4 separate regions of the Homo sapiens genome follow, and regions 1, 2 and 4 are each linked to region 3. Evidence: promoter capture Hi-C in 16 types of primary human blood cells and fetal thymus (Javierre and others, 2016). All regions are on one chromosome and are shown on one strand. Each heading gives the region's core, a stretch centred on a gene start or on the middle of the fragment in contact. The rest is flanking DNA. Distances are from core to core; before and after follow the strand shown.

Evidence for each region. Contacts are between HindIII fragments. The CHiCAGO score rates a contact against its expected background, and 5 or more counts as called.
Region 1: a fragment that was not itself captured here is called in contact with the fragment with the promoter of TMEM68 in region 3 in 1 of 17 cell types (total CD4 T cells); the score reaches 7.9 in total CD4 T cells.
Region 2: a fragment that was not itself captured here is called in contact with the fragment with the promoter of TMEM68 in region 3 in 1 of 17 cell types (non-activated CD4 T cells); the score reaches 6.0 in non-activated CD4 T cells.
Region 4: the fragment with the promoter of RAB2A here is called in contact with the fragment with the promoter of TMEM68 in region 3 in 1 of 17 cell types (non-activated CD4 T cells); the score reaches 6.0 in non-activated CD4 T cells.

What each region holds. Positions count from the first base shown.
Region 1 is chr8:52,706,401-52,710,617 of GRCh38, reverse strand. The region is part of intron 1 of RB1CC1 (RB1 inducible coiled-coil 1); the gene reads left to right. Among named protein-coding and RNA genes, the nearest start is that of RB1CC1, 5.9 kb to the left of the region's middle. RefSeq lists silencers at 2,758-2,917, 2,928-2,977. The HindIII fragment of the contact is 900 bases long and covers 1,689-2,588 here.
Region 2 is chr8:51,886,324-51,890,369 of GRCh38, reverse strand. The region is part of intron 1 of PCMTD1 (protein-L-isoaspartate (D-aspartate) O-methyltransferase domain containing 1); the gene reads left to right. Among named protein-coding and RNA genes, the nearest start is that of PCMTD1, 11 kb to the left of the region's middle. The HindIII fragment of the contact is 811 bases long and covers 1,032-1,842 here.
Region 3 is chr8:55,771,367-55,775,689 of GRCh38, reverse strand. It overlaps TMEM68 (transmembrane protein 68), which reads left to right and starts at 2,312. Exons shown (of 8, transcript NM_001286657.2): 1 at 2,312-2,421. It overlaps TGS1 (trimethylguanosine synthase 1), which reads right to left and starts at 2,244. Exons shown (of 13, transcript NM_024831.8): 1 at 1,971-2,244. The coding sequence starts at 2,071. RefSeq lists enhancers at 1,806-2,135, 2,907-3,410 and silencers at 2,276-2,465, 2,556-2,685. The HindIII fragment of the contact is 10,724 bases long and covers 1-3,764 here.
Region 4 is chr8:60,515,033-60,519,166 of GRCh38, reverse strand. RAB2A (RAB2A, member RAS oncogene family) reads right to left here and starts at 2,180. Exons shown (of 8, transcript NM_002865.3): 1 at 1,914-2,180. The coding sequence starts at 1,959. It overlaps LOC124901949 (a long non-coding RNA gene), which reads right to left. Exons shown (of 3, transcript XR_007060922.1): 3 at 2,369-4,134. RefSeq lists enhancers at 747-936, 2,172-3,032 and a silencer at 1,727-2,596. The HindIII fragment of the contact is 4,226 bases long and covers 294-4,134 here.

The DNA.
Region 1 (4,217 bases), core at 889-3,388, 3.1 Mb after region 3:
GATAGGGACACCAAAATGTGTAATGCATTTATATGTACTGATACAGAAAGATTTCTGTTATTTTATGCAGTTCAAGCAAAGTCCATAGTAGTATGTAGGGTGTCACCTCATTTTTATAAAACCATATTGCCTGAATATACACATATTTCCTGTACACCTAGGGAAAAAAACCTGAAGGGTGTACTCCAAAGTATTTTTCATTTTTGTTTTAAAAGTATTCCTGTTCTGCTATTTTTACCTCATTTGCTGTCTTTGGGCACTACCTTTCTAAATGCTCGCTTCATTCTTTTGGCGAAGTTGCTTGTCTAGTTTGTAGACAAGGCGTATATTTAGGAAGTCTGAACTTTTATGAAAAAGGTTTTCTTTCAGGGAAATGTGAGGAAAATGCCTGACCTACTCATCTTTCATTCTTTTTCTTGGCAGAGAAGGGGTAGGATCAGATTAGAATACATCTGATTTGGGGAGACTGATGCCCAGTTTTCAGTCCCTGGGCAACCTAGACACTCCGTTTGTGGTGGACATTATCTCCATTGATGCAGTAGCCCGTGACCCCTCAATGAGGGAGAATTGCTAATAATTGCAGTTTACAGAATTAGAGATCAGGCAAAATTATTTCCAATCATCTTTTCTCTGAAGCTTTTAGTCCACTTTAGGGTTATCTGAGTCTCATGTGTTCTATTCAGCTGGAAAGCATCTTGAAGATATTTGTATTCCAGGCACCTAGCAGTGTCTGGCTTATGTTTAGATGCCCCCAAAATAGTGGATGAATAATGAATGTGTCCAGTTTTGAAGGTCAGAGATTGTCATTGGGGTGTCCCCCTTTCACCTTATCATATAAGGAAGCGAATTCTGTTTTGTTTGTTTGTTTTTGTTTTTTAAGGCAGAGTCTTACTTTGTCGCCCAGGCAGGCGACAGGCAATGGTGTGATCTAGGCTCACTACAACCACTGCCTCGTGGGCTCAGATGATCCTCCCACTTCAGCCTCCCAGTAGGTGGGATTACAGGCATGCACTACCACTGCCAACTAATTCTTGTATTCTTAGTAGAGACGGGGTTTCACCATGTTTCCCAGGCTGGTCTTGAACTCCTGGCCTGAAGTGAGCCACCCACCTCGGCCTCCCAAAGTGCTGGGATTACAGGCAGGAGCCACTGTGTCTGGCCTAATTCTAAGTTTTGACTGTATTAGAATAGTTGACAGTAAGGCTGGGATAATTGACTTTATCATCATGATAATCTCTCGAGAAAATTGTAAATCTCCACTTGATAAGTTGGATAGATTTTAATGAGTATGTGAGATACTTTCTGGTTCTTTTCCTCAAATATGGATATATATGGGTTCAGTTGTTATTCCTGTACATCTGGAAACAAATGCAGTGGGATCAATATATTTTTATTTTTATTTATTTTTTTGAGATGGAGTTTCACTCTTGTTGCCCAGGCTGGAGTGCAATGGCATGATCTCAGCTGACCGCAACCTCTGACTCCCGGGTTCAAGCGAGTCTCCTGCCTCAGCCTCCTGAGTAGCTGGGATTACAGGCATGTGCTACCACACTCAGATAATTTTGTGTTTTTAGTAGAAATGGGGTTTATCCATGTTGGTCAGGCTGGTCTCAAACTCGCGACCTCAGGTGATCTGTCCGCCTCTGCCTCCCAAAGTGCTGGGTGGCATATAAAGTGGACTAAAAGCTTCAGAGAGAAAAGATGATTAGAAATAATTTTGCCTGATCCCTAGTTCTGTAAACTGCAGTTATTAGCAATTCTCCCTCATTGAGGGGTCACGGGCTACTACCGCATCAATGGAGATAATGTCCACCACCCTGTCGGATCAATATTTTTTAAAATACAGCTCTCTTCTCCCCTTCATTTATAGCTGACTGTATCCTAGGAGGATTTAGGAGGACCAGATGTCCTCATAATGAGAGATAGGTTTTTCCCCCCAGATAAGAGAATTCCTGCTACCTTATATTAACTACTTAAGAGTTCTGTAAATTCAGAGAAAGGAGAAAGAATACTATAGGCCACCTGTGATAAGGGAAGACTTCCCAGAAGTGGTAATAGGACAATACTTGGACTTTTGTTTGTTTGTTTGTTTGTTTGTTTTTGAGACGAGTCTCGCTCTGTTGCCCAGGCTGGAGTGCAGTGGTGTGATCTCAACTTACTGCAAGCTCCGCCTCCTGGGTTCACGCCATTCTCCCACCTCAGCCTCCCAAGCAGCTGGGACTACAGGCATCCGCCACCATGCCCGGCTAATTTTTTTGTATTTTTAGCAGAGACGGGGTTTCACTGTGTTAGCCAGGATGGTCTCGATCTCCTTACCTTGTGATCCACCCGCCTCAGCCTCCCAAAGTGCTGGGATTACAGGCGTGAGCCAGTGTGCCCGGCAATACTTTGACTTTTAAAGATGAGTAAAATTCAGATCAGCAAAGATGGGGGTATTTTACCTGGCAGGAGTATGTAAAGTGAGGGTATAGGTTTGTCATGTAAGGGAGTAGTTGATGATACTGCTACAAAAATAAACTGGGGTTAATTATGAAGTTCTTGAGTGCTGGAGTTTAATTAAAGTCATAATTGCCACCATTTTTAAAGCTTTTAGTATATTCCTAGCACCGTAAAGGACTCTGAAGTACATTATTGCTATCCTTCTCATCTCTGTGAAAGGTATCGTTGCAATTTATAGATTGTCAACTGATATGTGGAGGTTACCTGAGCCTCAGTGAGATAGATGGTATTCAAATACAAGTAAATTTTGTTCCTAAGTCTGCCATTTTTATGTTAATCTAGCCTATATCAAGTTGGCAAATTCACATGCTAAGAGGGGTGGGCAGATAGTACAATTAAGTGAAACTGTCTGAGTACTGAACCGGAGGTGACAAAGAGAGTGTAGCTGTAAAGAAACTACAGATTTGTGCCCTGCTGTAGGCAACAGTAAGGTGCTAGGGAAGATACTTGAGGGAAGCAGCCTGACTACCTTGGTTGTAACTGGTAGGGAGTATTTAGGAAGGATTGAAGCCGGATAGAGATTTAAAGACAGAGAGAAGAGGTTGCAGTTTCCTAAGTAAGGGTTATGTCATTGGAAAATGAGGGGTTGGATTAGAAAGGAAAAAAATGGGTAGGACTTGGACAGAAATAACTGAAGCCTGGTCCATTGTCACTTTGGAAAGTTTGTAAAAAAAAAAAAAAAAAAAGAAAGAAAGAAAAAGAAAAGAAAAATAACTGAAGTTTGGGGCAATAGTAGAATGATAGTTCATTGACAGTGAATAAATTAGGGAATAGATTTAAAGGAAAAGCACCGAATTTAAATTTGGACATGTTGAGTTTGAGGTAACAGTAGGATTTCCAGCTGGAAATATGAAGCATCAGTTACTGCTAGCTCTAAACTCAGAACAGAGATCTGGATTAGTTAATAACAGTAATTGATGTTTGTATTTCACTTTATGGTTTACATAACTTCCATATATGTATAGATTATTCGTTAGATCCTGACCACAACCCTGTGAGACAGGTACTTTTACTTTTTGTAATCAAATGAAAAAACTTGTTAGGTGAAGTCAGTTCAGGTCACATTGGGCCAGGACTTGAATATACTTCTTTTGATTCCAAATCTCATGTTCTTTTCACAGTTCTGTTCTCCCTCTTATGTTTACATAAAGATAACAATTGGGGCGTGGTGACTCATGCCTGTATTCCCAGAACTTTGGGAGGCTGAGGCAGACAGATCACTTGGGGTCAGGAGTTTGAGACCAGCCTGGCCAGCATGGCGAAACCCTGTCTCTACTAAAAATACAAAAAAAATTAGCTGGGTGTGGTGGTGGGTGCCTATAATCCCAGCTACTCTGGAGGCTGAGGAGAGAGAATCTCTCTCTCTCTTTTTTTTTTTTTTTTGAAACAGAGGGAGTCTCGTTCTGTAGCCCAGGCTAGAGTGCAGTGGCGAGATCTCGGCTTACTGCAAGCTCCGCCTCCTGGGTTCACGCCATTCTCCTGCCTCAGCCTCCCGAGTAGCTGGGACTACAGGTGCCTGCCACCACGCCCGGCTAATTTTTTGTATTTTTAGTAGAGACGGGGTTTCACTGTGTTAGCCAGGATGGTCTCAATCTCCTGACCTCATGATCCGCCTGCCTCGGCCTCCCAAAGGAGAATCTCTTGAACCTGGGAGGCGGAGGCTACAACGAGCTGAAGGCTGCAGTGAGCGGAGATCGCACCACTGCACCCAGCCCCTA
Region 2 (4,046 bases), core at 188-2,687, 3.9 Mb after region 3:
GAACATGCAAAGGCAGTCACTCTAATTTTAGTTTCAAGGAAAAGCCTAGCAGTGATATATACTGATTTACCAGGCATTGTAAATCCCATTGTGAAAGAATTATTTTAAATACATCTAAACCGTTTTTAATAGGCTTGACTTTTCCCTGTAAATAGAGTAATTTGAACCTTTATTCTTTTATGAACCAGAGAAATTAGAAATAGATGTAGGCATTTCTACAATGATCTATATAAATATCTGTGAATATAACCATTCATGCAGTTGATTTGGCTTTAAAGAAAAGGGAGGTAATCACCATGGACTTAAAGTAGTTTAATTACCTCATTATTTATGACAAAAAGGCTTTATATAAGCTTTTTTTTTTTTTTTTGTTAAGGACTTGTTCAGTTATCACTGTTTAGTTATCACTGGTTTTATTGTATCTAGGCAGCACAATAAAATTAATTCACTTCACACTAATATATATTTTTGTGTGTACACACACACACACACACACACACACACGTATATCCTTACATATGGCCATTTGTGGTGCACAGCTCAGGAGACACTATTAACATAGAATCTAATATAAATGACATTCCCTTTACTGCTTCAGGAAAACTGACACTTTATGTGGGAATAGTGCTTCCTGGCATTGTGTAGTCAGCATGAGACCCTGTTAAATTTGATACTTTCCACATTTTCACATTTTCGTATAACTTTGCATCTTGTCAAAGAGGTAGGAAAGTATTGTTATTCCCATTTTATAGATGCATGAACTAAGACTCAGAATGACTTCAGTTTCCTCAGTCTGCTTTATTTTCTATAAAATGATGATACCAGACTCAGCAATCAACAGTGTTGAGGGACACAGGGTTTGGTGTCAGATAGATCTAGAACTCAACCTCAGTTTTGCCTCCTACTAGCTGTAAAAGCTTAAGGAAGTTATTTAATCCCTTTCCTTCGTTTCCCATCCCTAAAAATAATGCTGTTACATGAAATTTTATGAAGACTTAAATGAGTTAATATACTTAAAACACCTCAAAGCTTTATGCTGTAAGTGCTCAATTAATGATAGTTGCATTAATAATCAGTAATAAAGGTTATATATTATTTTGTGAGTCGTATACTACTTTTCAGAGATTATGAGGTCAGTTAACACTTGATAGAAAGTGACGGACCTAACCTAGAAGCAATATCCGTTTTAAGTAGAGGCCAAACTTGGACTGATAACCTCATGCTCTCTTACCAATATTGTAGGCAGTGAGTGAGGAGTTAACAATAACAACAAAAGGCCTAGGAAAAGCAAGGAGAATGTGTCCTATATAGTCAGGGACAGACTTTGGAGTCACACTAGACCCACCATAGTTGTGTGTAAAATAAAGCAGATTTGAATCATCTAGTCACACAAAAAAGAAACGAGAAGTTACTGCAGTGAGAGAGCAAAGCAGTTCCAGATGGTGGAATGCTTTTACTGTGTGTGTTGGTCTCTGAGGTGCTCGTGACATACCATTATCATACTGTTCCTCATAATGACCCTCAGCCACTAAGAAATGGTTGAGTTATGCGGGATAATTTGCTAAGACTGTAGAACTAATACACTATATAAAGACTTTCATTACTTTGTTTTTAATCTTTGCAACTTAAAGGAGTATTTTTCAGTTACCAGTAACATTAATTTGTTTTACTCGGTGCTAGATAAAAATGACTAAATTTGAATGTGCACATTATTTCATTTGATTCTTAAAACTAAGTAGGTCATAGAAAGGTTAATGGCCAATGGTAAAATAAAGGCTATGAGTTCAGACTTTCATGCATATATTTGATTCTGGGTCTCTTTCTCATTGTTAACCCAAAGCTTATTTATAAAGGTCAGGGCCTGCTTGTTTGTTTTCATACCCTTTAGTGCCTTCTACTGTGGGAGCATTACGAAAATCAGGTCCTGCTCCTAAATGTCTTAATATTTTGTTATCTAGTGTATCTTCCCATTCATTTTTTTGTGATACACAAAAGTCATTTACCTGAAGGGGAATCTATTTTTAAAAGGATGCTCCCTCTTGAGGCCAACCTGGAATCCTCCTGCATTGAATTGACAATTTTGAATCTGCTACTATATCCTGTTGGATGTCAACAGCTAAGGAAAGGTATGGACCATCATATACAGGGTCTTACTCTATTGAACTGAACTTCTGTAAGCACTCAGAATGAATCTATATGGTAGCTTTCTACTACCCTAAAAGTAAGGTCAGGAGTTAGGAATGAACTCTAAACAGTTTTAAACTTGAAGTTTATATTTAGGCACAGTTTCTTCTAATAGAGTAAGATATTAGAAATTATGAAAACTTGGCCGGGCACGGTGGCTCATGCCTGTAATCCCAGCACTTTTGGAGGCCGAGGTGGGCGGATCACGAGGTCAAGAGATTGAGACCATCCTGGCCAACATGGTGAAACTCCGTCTCTACTAAAAATACAAAAAAATTAGCTGAGTGTGGTTGGCACGTGCCTGTAATCCCAGCTACTTGAGAGGCTGAGGCAGGAGAATCGCTTGAACCCGGGAGGCAGAGGTTGCAGTGAGCTGAGATCGTGCCACTGCACTCCAGCCTGGTGACAGAGCAAGACTCTGTCTCAAAAAAAAAAAAAAAGAAATTATGAAAACTTTTTTGTGAAACTGTTCTCAAATATTGGGACTGAGCGTACTCTTTTTTTTTTTTAATTTATTTTAAACGAGGAAAATGATTGCATGGCTTGATAATTACCATACCAAATGATTGATAGTTTTGTTTTTTTGCAGTTTCTAGTTGCTACTTAAAATTGAGTTTCAGGGTGTTCAGTTAGTTTATACATAGTTATTGCTTTAGTTAGAGGATTTTAGACTATCTTAAGAATATAACCTTGCGTTATTTACCTGTAAGAGAAAATAAATTCCAAGTCTGTCAAGTAATAATAAGCATATTTCTTCTGCTGATCCTTTCTGCCATATTGTTTCTTCACCTGTATGCTGGATGAGAAATGGGAGAAGGGATGGATTTGGGCTGCCGGTATACATTTTAAGATGGATTGTATCTGATTCTCTATGGAACAGCATTACCCTGAAGAGTAGGAGTCAAAGTTTGGGTAGTGTGCTAGGCAAATAGTAGCCCCCCAAAGAGGTCCATGTTCTAATCCCTGGAACCTGCGAATATGTGACCTTATATGGCAAAGGGGAATTAAGGTTGCAGATGAATTAAAGTTGCTAATCAGTTTAAGATAGGAAGATTATCCTGGATTATCCCGATAAGCCCAGTGTAATCATAAGGGTCCTTAAAAATGGAAGGAGGAGGCAGAGCGAGAGAACCAGAGAGACAGCAGAAAAGGAATCAGCGTCATGTTTCTTGCTTTGCAGATGGAAGAAAGAAAGGGCCATGAGGCAAGAGAGAAAAAAAAAAAGCAGATGGACACTAGACACTGATGCGAGGGAACAGATTTCTCCTAAAGAACCTTCAGAAAGGAACAGTCTCCCCAACACCTTGATCTTAACCCAGTGAGACTTGTATCATGAAGCCTGTGTCAGACTTCTGACCTCCAGAACTATCAGATAATAAACTTGTGTGGTTTTAAGCCATTAGGTTTATGCTAATTTGCTATGACAGTGATAGAAAACTAATACAGGTAAATATACTGTGGCCATTTGATTCCTTATGGAAATGATTTCTAAACAGCCTCTCCCCAACAAAAGATTAAGATGACATTTATAAAACTGATAAAACTAGTGCAGCTGTGTTTAAATGGGGGTGGCATTGAGTCCTGCCAGGTGAGATTTCTTCCCATTTTTGTAGAATCTTGGGGGCACCTGTGGATTTTTGGAGCTGCTTTCTTTATTGATAAAAGTTGTATACTGGGCAGATGAATCAAAATGGCATATAGGAATCCCATTGAAATTGGGATAACTACAGGTATGATCATCTTGAAGTTCATTGCAGTAATCTAGCAAAAATTGATAGGGGTATTGACAAAAGGGCTTTTCACTAAGGGGAATGGGAGTAATTAAAGAGTAGCTGGTCTGAAAGGTGAGGGGCTATAGTTTT
Region 3 (4,323 bases), core at 1,063-3,562:
ACTCTTGGTTATCTCATAGATACCCCCAAATCAAAATGTATAAAATCAAACTCATAATCTCTTCTCCGTTGACCCAAAATAAAATTCATGATTCTCCAGTGATCCCTACCTCAGTGAAAGGCAGCAATACAATTCAGTCCCCACCCCCAGCAAGTTTTCTCCCATCTTTCTTTCTTTCTCCATTTCTGCTGCCATTTATCCTAATCCAAGTCACTATAATCTCTTGCCTAAACAATGGTCTTAAGTGGTTCTCTTCCTCCAAACAATCCTCCACACTGCCGCCTGAGTAGTATTTTAAATATGCAAATCTGATCATGTCATTCCCCAGCTTAAGGTTTTCCTATAGTCTACAAAGTCCTGCGGGTTTTGACCCTGCCTACTGTGCACACCCTATCTTCTTTCTTTCCCAGTTTTTTTTCTTTTCTTTCTTTTCTTTTCTTTTTTTTTTTCGGGACAGAGTCTTGCTCTGTCATCCAGGCACGACAATGGCTAACTGCAGCCTGGATCTCCTGGGCTCAAGAGAGCATCTGGCCCAAGCCTCCAGAGTAGCTGGGACTACAAGCATGTGCCACCACAGCTGGCTAATTTTAAAAAAAAATTTCAGTACAGATGAGGTGTTGTTATGTTGCCCAGGCTAGTCTCCAACTTCCGGGCTCAAGTGATCCTCACTCCTCGGCCTCCTAAAGTGGTGGGATTACAGGTGTGCACCACCGTGCCCTCCCTCCCAGCCATTTTGTTCAGTTTCCCAGGCTTTCTTTTGCTCCCTCAAGGCCTTTACTGAGTTCAGCCTGCAGAGAACGCTTTCTCCCACTGAAACTCACCCCAATTTATCCCCCTTAGACCTCTTTCCAAAAGCTACTTCCTCAAAGAAACCTCTGTGACCCTTGGAAAGTTATTTGTTTTCACAGCATCCTGCACTTCTCTCTCATAGCACTTATAACTATAATCAACCAAGTAATAATGTAACCAGTTATCTTAATATTGATCTTCTCTGCTAGGAAGTAAACTCAATACATGTAAGGACAGAATGTCTTGTACCTCAGTGCCTACCAGCATACTTGATATACAAGAGCACAAAAAACATTTTCTGAATGATTGTATGACTACATGCATGCCTGACTAAAAAGGCGACAATACTTTTTACATTAAATTTAACAAGTTTAACTTCTTTTTGCGTTTTCAAATTACTCCACAAAATTACACGAGAAAAATGAATTCCTTCAAACTTAAATCCTACTATATTAAACTATATTAAAAGTCTATCACATAAAATTCACTTCCACAAGGATTTAACTCTAACAAAATAAGCATGTGAGATTAAATATACCCGTTATAGAGATGAAAAAAAGGTTCAAGTGGTTTAACTCACGCATTTAATATAAAGGAAACAATTCCTAGAATTCAAGTCTCTTGGCGGTATTATTCCTGCATACTAGCTATTTTTCATGTGGGGCAATTTTTACCTGATTCAAAGATTTCCCCAAAATAAAGATATCACAAAAACTGATGTAAATATGGTTAAGTCTTTTATCTCAACTAGTTTGAAGTTTTAATTATGTGCATTTGGGCTTAAGTAGATTTTTAGGTTTAAAAAAAGACGTTAACCAAAGCAAGTCACTCAACTTTAAACTTTCACTTTATGACATCATATCTACTAGAGATTTCATTTTACATGTCGCTTTCCCCCAATTTTTAAATGTCCCCTCGATTTACAAATATGAGATGACATATAGCACCTACGACATTTTTTCATAGCAGCCTACCAAGTAGATGTAGTCCTTCACATAAAAATAATGGCAGTGGGCGACCACTCCGTCATGTCTGAGGGTTTTGTTTTTCTTAAACATCACCGTGCCCAAGGGTCAGATGTTCTGGCTGCTTTCAGGGATCAATTACAACCACGTTTGCAATACCTACATTTCTGGGTAATGACTGTGCTAGAACATGAAGAGATTCTCTTTTCTACTTACTCCACAAATGCCCTGGAGCAAAGGCACAGTATCTTACAATCCTCCCGCTCCTCAATGAAGAGAAACATTTCCGCCACGCGGCTCCACTTCTCGCAGCACATTTTACCACTTCGGAGGCAGCTCTGACGTACGCAGCCCGGGTCGCGCCTGCCGGGCCTCCGCTCGGTTACTGGAGACTTAAAACAGGCCTCGCCCGCAAGCCCTGGATGAGGAGATAGAAACTGGCCCGCGGCCGCTCGCGCCGGGAACTAGCCCGGACGCTGCCGCCGGAAGTGGCTCCGAGGGGCCACGGGAAGGGGCGGGACCACGGGCGGTGTCACCCCCATCGCGGCCCGGGCTGCAGCCGCCGCTTGGCTTCTTTCACACGGGTTGCTTCGGAGGAATCCGCCGTGCAAATCTGTCCGCCCCCTTGGCCACTGATCCCCCGAAGAGCTTCTGTCGCCGCTCTAGGGTAAAGGAGAGCTGCCCCTGCCCCTGCCCCCGCCTATCCGAGGTGCGTCGGCCCCCGCGCTTCTCCAGCCCGGCATCGGGTCTGGCGGGACTGGGAGCGGCGGAGGCCGCGCGCGTCCGGTCTCCCAGGAGCCGCCTCGGAATCCCCAGTCTCTTCGCGGGCAGGCTCGGCTTCCCGCCGGCCTCAGTGTTGCGCCCCAGCGCCAGAGTGGCCGGGTGTGGAGATCCTCCCTCCTCTGGGTCAAAGAGCCTGCTCTCCCCGCCCCTCTTCTCCCCTGGCGCTCTAAACCTTCGGTTCGGCGCGTTTCATCCTAATGCATCTGGTGGGGCGAGGCGTCTCTAGCCTCTGTAGAGGCCTCTAGGCTTGCCCAGTGGCTTCGCTGGTTCCGGGACCCAGGTCGAGCCTCCGGTGTAAAAGCCAAGGGGAAGTGTGTGGTGATCCCGAGAGTGTAGGGGGAAAGCCGCGTGGGTAGAGCGTTCGTATCCAGACCGATCAGGCTTGGAATCCTGGTCCTACCTTGTGACCTGGGCAGGCAACTTCACCTTTCTGAGCTTACCTTTGATCACCTGTGAAATGGGGTTGATTAATAGTAACTACTACATGAGGCTGCAGGGAGGACTAAACGAAATGATGTATATTACACCTTTCCTTTGTGCGCTTAATCGTTGGCGTCGGTTTGGACCTTGTAGGCGTTAAGTGCTGTCTCGGTCCCTGGGGTTTGCAGCCTGTAAAACAGGTCTCTGCCTTCAAGTTACTAATTATCTAATAAGAAAAAAGTTCATGTGGGCATAAATAGGATGGAGAAAATGGAAACAGCAGCGTTGCTGGATCTGTTAAAAAGCAGTTAGTATTTGGTGTGTGGTATTCATGGAGGCTGCACGGGCAACTTCTTCAGAGACAAGCTCAGACTTGAAAGTTGGAGCGCTTCGGACGTGGTTGGTGCTACGAAATGCCAAAATAGTATTGGTACTTCTTCAGAACTATATAAAAACTGAGCTAAAATTCATGCATTTTGAATGGTATTTTCAATAGTATTTTGGCCACATTTACTAGTTAGTGGAAATATTCATTTTCAAATGTTTATTCCCACCTCCTTACTGCTGCCCTACTTTGAGGTCGGAGATAGGCTGATTTTGTTGGTTCAAGAAGGTAAGAGTGCTGCACGGTTACAGATATACCAGTATAGATGTGCAGCATTATTGGGATGAGTAGCTGGGTTACGATAATAAGGGTAGAACAGTAATTATGAAACAGAGTGGAAGATTTTAGCTAGAAGTTGGGCATTCTAGGATTAAAGAAAAGTCTTGAAGGGTAATTTGTATCAGAACCTCGAGTTTAAAGCTTGAAATAAAAAAAGTATTAAAGCTAAAAGGATTAGATTTACCAGCTATCTTGACAAATACTAAATTGCAGCTTTATTCATGGTTTGAAGTAGAAGTCCTATTCAGTAAAACAGTGCTGTATCTCTGTTAAACCATTATTAAATATGCAGAAAGGAAACAGGAAAACTTGTTTTTCAGTGACTATATCTTTTAATTGGCATTTTCAGAATGTTCTCAATGTGACTTATATACTAAAAGTAAAATGGAAAAGTACTGGTAATGGGTGTTCAAAATAGATATACTTTATTTATTTATTTATTTATTTTTTTTGAGACAGGATCTTGCTCTGTCACCCAGGCTGTAGTGTAGTGGCGCGATCGCGGCTCACAGCAACCTCTACCTCCCAGGCTCAAGCAATCCTCCTACCTCAGCCCCCCGAGTAGCTGGGGCTACAGGCATGCCACCATGCCTGCCTAATTTTGTGTGTGTGTGTGTGTGTGTGTGTTTTGTAGAGACAAGGTTTTGCCATATTGCCCAGACTGGTCTTGAATTCTTGGGTTCAAGTGATTTGCCTGCCTCA
Region 4 (4,134 bases), core at 931-3,430, 4.7 Mb before region 3:
GCTGCAGACTATAACAGTGTCAAGAATTCTGTTCCTGAACTAGGTCGTATCAGCAGCAATGACAAGAAAGAAGTGTCTTCCCTTTGAATTGCGTGGGGACTGCTTTTGGATAAGAGCAAATTCCAAGAGAACAGAGCATTAACTTGTTAGGATTTGTAGCCCCACTACTCCATGCACAATACTTTATTTATCCACAGTACAGCCTCAAATAAAAAACTGAAAAAAGGCAACCAGCAAAGTCTGATTTGAATTTTCACCACTAATGAGATAGCCAAATGCCACAGTCACAAGCTTCTATTTCTCAAACCCACTCATATTACAGTTAATGTGGCATTCCTCTCCAATCTTGTTTTTACAGCCTAAATGAAATTTTGCCAGAAGACTTTAGAATTCTCCTTCTTCCAAATACACCACAGCATTTTTCTTTTAAAGTTTACAAATCCAATTTCCACACACACACACACGCACGCACGCATCAGAAAACCTTGCTGAAAACTCATGTATCTAGCAGAAATTTTTTCTTTCAGGCAGCAATAAATATGCTTTTTTTTTTTTTTTTTTTTTTTTTTTGCAAACTCCACCTTCCGGGCTCAAGTGATCCTCCCGCCTCAGCCTCCCAAGTGGCTGGGATTACAGGCGCCTGCCACGACGCCCGGCTAACTTTTGTACTTTTAGTAGAGACGGGGTTTCACCACGTTGGCCAAGCAGGTCTCGAACTCCTGATCTCAGGTGATCCCCCACCTCGGCCTCCGAAAGTGCTGGGATTACAGGTGTGAGCCACCGCGTCCGGCCAACATGCTTCTTTAGTTACTTATAGAACCTGCCACATCATTAGTTCAACTACAAACTGCTGCTTACATGACCGAAGTTGTGCAAAGGGTCCAAAGTTGTGCAAGAGTAACCACTGAAATCAGACTCTGGTATATTAATAGTTGCAACATCTAAACAATCTTTATGTTTATTATTAGATTCAAAGTAATGCCAAATCACAGGTATTAAAAATATCTACGAAGAGTCTGTTTACTTTTCTGTGAAATATACTAGGACGTCATTTTAAGTGAGAATAACTGAATTTCTTTCAGCTCATGGACATGAGCTCACCTGAAAATTAGCAGTTGTGACACCGGACTTGACATATCTAAAACATCAGCGTCCTCAACATACACATACCTAAGTACACACCCAGAGCACTGAACGACTTTACATTACTATATAACCCCAGTTCACACGTGGCAAAAGTCCACAGAACTCGTTCATGCTTTCCTAACCCCGAAAGGGATTCTCCAGCCGTCAAGTAATGAGATGTGACTTATTCTGACGTGAGAGTTGAAGGTGTTAAAAAAGCATATTTTATATATATGTATATATATAAAATACATATTTTAAAGGTTTCCTTTTCTCTTTCTCGGCTGCCTGTCCCACGCCAAAAAGCGCCTTGCCCAGGCCTTGATAGATGCGTGCTGGTGGAGGAAGGTTGGACTGGTCAGGAACCAAGACCCGGGCCCCAACACCTTCTGCTCCCCTAGGTTTCCCTCCTTCTTTTTCCTGGGGCCGCGAAGAGACCTAACGCAAGGGGCCCTGGGGGTGGGGTGCAGTCATGTGAGTCGGGCCCCGGCGGCCCTGCGCTAGGCCTCCCCTCCTGTCACACACTTCCTGAATCGGGCGTCGCAAACGGCTGCCACGGCCCTCAGCTGCAAGACTGGCCGGGTCGGGGGCCGCAGACCGGGCCTGGCCAGGCCGCGGCCGCTCGCAGTGCCCACGTCACCAGCTCCAGCACTGCGGAAATGGAGCGGCGCGGCCAGGAGGGAGGCGCCGGGTGGAGTCCGCGTCCCCGCCACCGCCAGACGCCGTTTGCCCCTCAGCCCGGGTCCGGAGGCCGCCGACACCCGCCCGGCCGCGCCCGGGGCCCTCACCTGTGTCGCCGATTATGATGTACTTGAAGAGATAGGCGTACGCCATGGCCGCGGCCGCTCAGTGCCAGGGCACACGGCTCCTCCTCCCGCTGCTGCTCCTCCTCCGCGCCCCAACCCCGGTGCCGCTCAGCCTCGAAACGCCAGGCGCCGCCCGCCGCCGCCGCTGCTGCTGTCAGCCGCCGGGAGTGAGGGGCTGTGAGGAAGCCGGACGAACTGACACCCGCAGAGCCGAGGGAGACAGCGCCCGACCGAGCCCAGCCGAACAATAACAGCCGCCGCGGCGCCTCCGCCCCGCCTCCGCGCCGACCCGGAAGTTCTGCGGCCGCCGGCGCCGCCGGAGGAAAGGGGAGGAGCCCCGCACGCTGGCCCAGCCCTGCACGCTGGCCGCGCCCCGCCAGCCGGAGCCCCGCCCCGCCCCGCCCCGCGCCTGCCTTGCCCGGTCCGCCCTGTCTTCCAGCAGGGCGGGGCCCGGCTCCGGTTGTTCCGCCACGTTTGAGCGGGCGAGCCCGGCGGCCGGGAGACGCCAGGGAACGGGGCTGGTGGGGGTACAAAGGCTCGGTTCCGTCGCCTTCAGCCCTGCGGTGGGGGCACGGGGCAAGTGAGGGGACGGCAGAGGCGGCGTTCGGTGTGAGGCTGCGCCCTGGGCTCCTGAAAATGTGTGTGAAAATGTGGGAGGCACACGGCGAGGGGGTGGGGGTGGCCTGGTATTTCTGTGTTTGGCATCGGGGCTTGAAGGTGAAAATGGCAGTATTTATAAATTGGAAACCGTAAATCTGGGACTGCAAAGTAAATCATGGTATGCACGCACAGTGGAGTACTACGTTGCTCTCACCTGAGGTCAGGAGTTCGAGACCAGCCTGGCCAACATGGCGAAACCGCGTCTCTACTAAAAATACATTAGCCGGGCGTGGTGGTGCTCGCCTGTAATCCCAGCTACTCGGAGTCTAAGGCAGGAGAATCACTTGAACCTGGGAGGTGGAGGTTGTAGTGAGCCGAGATTGAACCACGGCACTCCAGACTGGGCGACAGAGCGGGACTCCGTCTCAAAATAATAATAGTAAATAAAAAATAAATAAAGTCTCTGAACCTGTCCTGGTTCTGAGGGCTGCTCTAAAAAAAAAAAAAAAAAAAAAGCCTGACTTAGGTTAAGCAAAACCGAGATGATCTGTTTATGTGTGTGTATATAACATGCACCATATGTAATATATGAATTGTATATAATTTTTATGTGTAACAAATAGTGGGAAAACATTTACATACCCATATATGCATAATCAATCTGAAAGGAAAGCTAACTGGTATTAAGAGAAAGGAGGGAATGGGATTGGGGGGAAAATGTACTTTTCCCTGAATTTTTTTGTGCAGTTTGACATTTTTTGCAGTGTTCATGAGTTACCTATTAGGAAATACTGTTAAAGGAAAAAACAAAATGACTGTGCATTCAAAGAATAGTTATTGAATACTATGTTTCATGTACCGCCAGGCACAGCAACTGGAGGCCCTGTATGTTCTATGTTCTGTTTTTCTACTTTGCTTTTTCAGTCATCCAGCCCAAAATGTCACCACTCTGTTCAAAAAGACCACAGGTTATGGAAGAGGAGGTGGAGAATAGGGTGTCAGGAAAGGTTACTTAGAGATTATGATTTCTGAGCCAGGAATATGAATTATGTATAGAGTTTGTCGAAAGAACAACAGTTTGGGGAGGGGAACCAAAGTTTATGGACAAGGAACAGAATGTGCAAAATTCCTGGATCTGTTCAGGGAATTTGAAGTTGCATAAGGAAGCTAATTGACTAACTCATATCCTCATAACCCATAACCTCATATTGAAGGAGAATCATTGCTGGGGAAAAGCGATTGGGATTTAGTGGCCCTCGTTCCTGTTGCCTAATACTCTTCTCTTTGGGGCCTCTCATTATGTAATTAGTACTGACACCATCATGCTGGGTTGCTAACATGCTTTGGATGGCCTTGCCAAATATGAACTCACAAGGTTTTTCTGGAATATTTGGAGGGGATTTTACTAAAGGGTCAGAGATGGCACGGAAGAATTTGACATGAAAATTTGACATGAAAAGCTACCTGGAATCGCAAAATTTGGTTCATTCACCTTTAGTTTGAGGAAGGGGAGGTCCCTGCCCAAGGCCTCCAGTTTTCAGATGTCATTTTGTCCCTCCCACTTGAGTGCCTTCACCCAAGTCTTCCTTGGTGATGGAGAAAC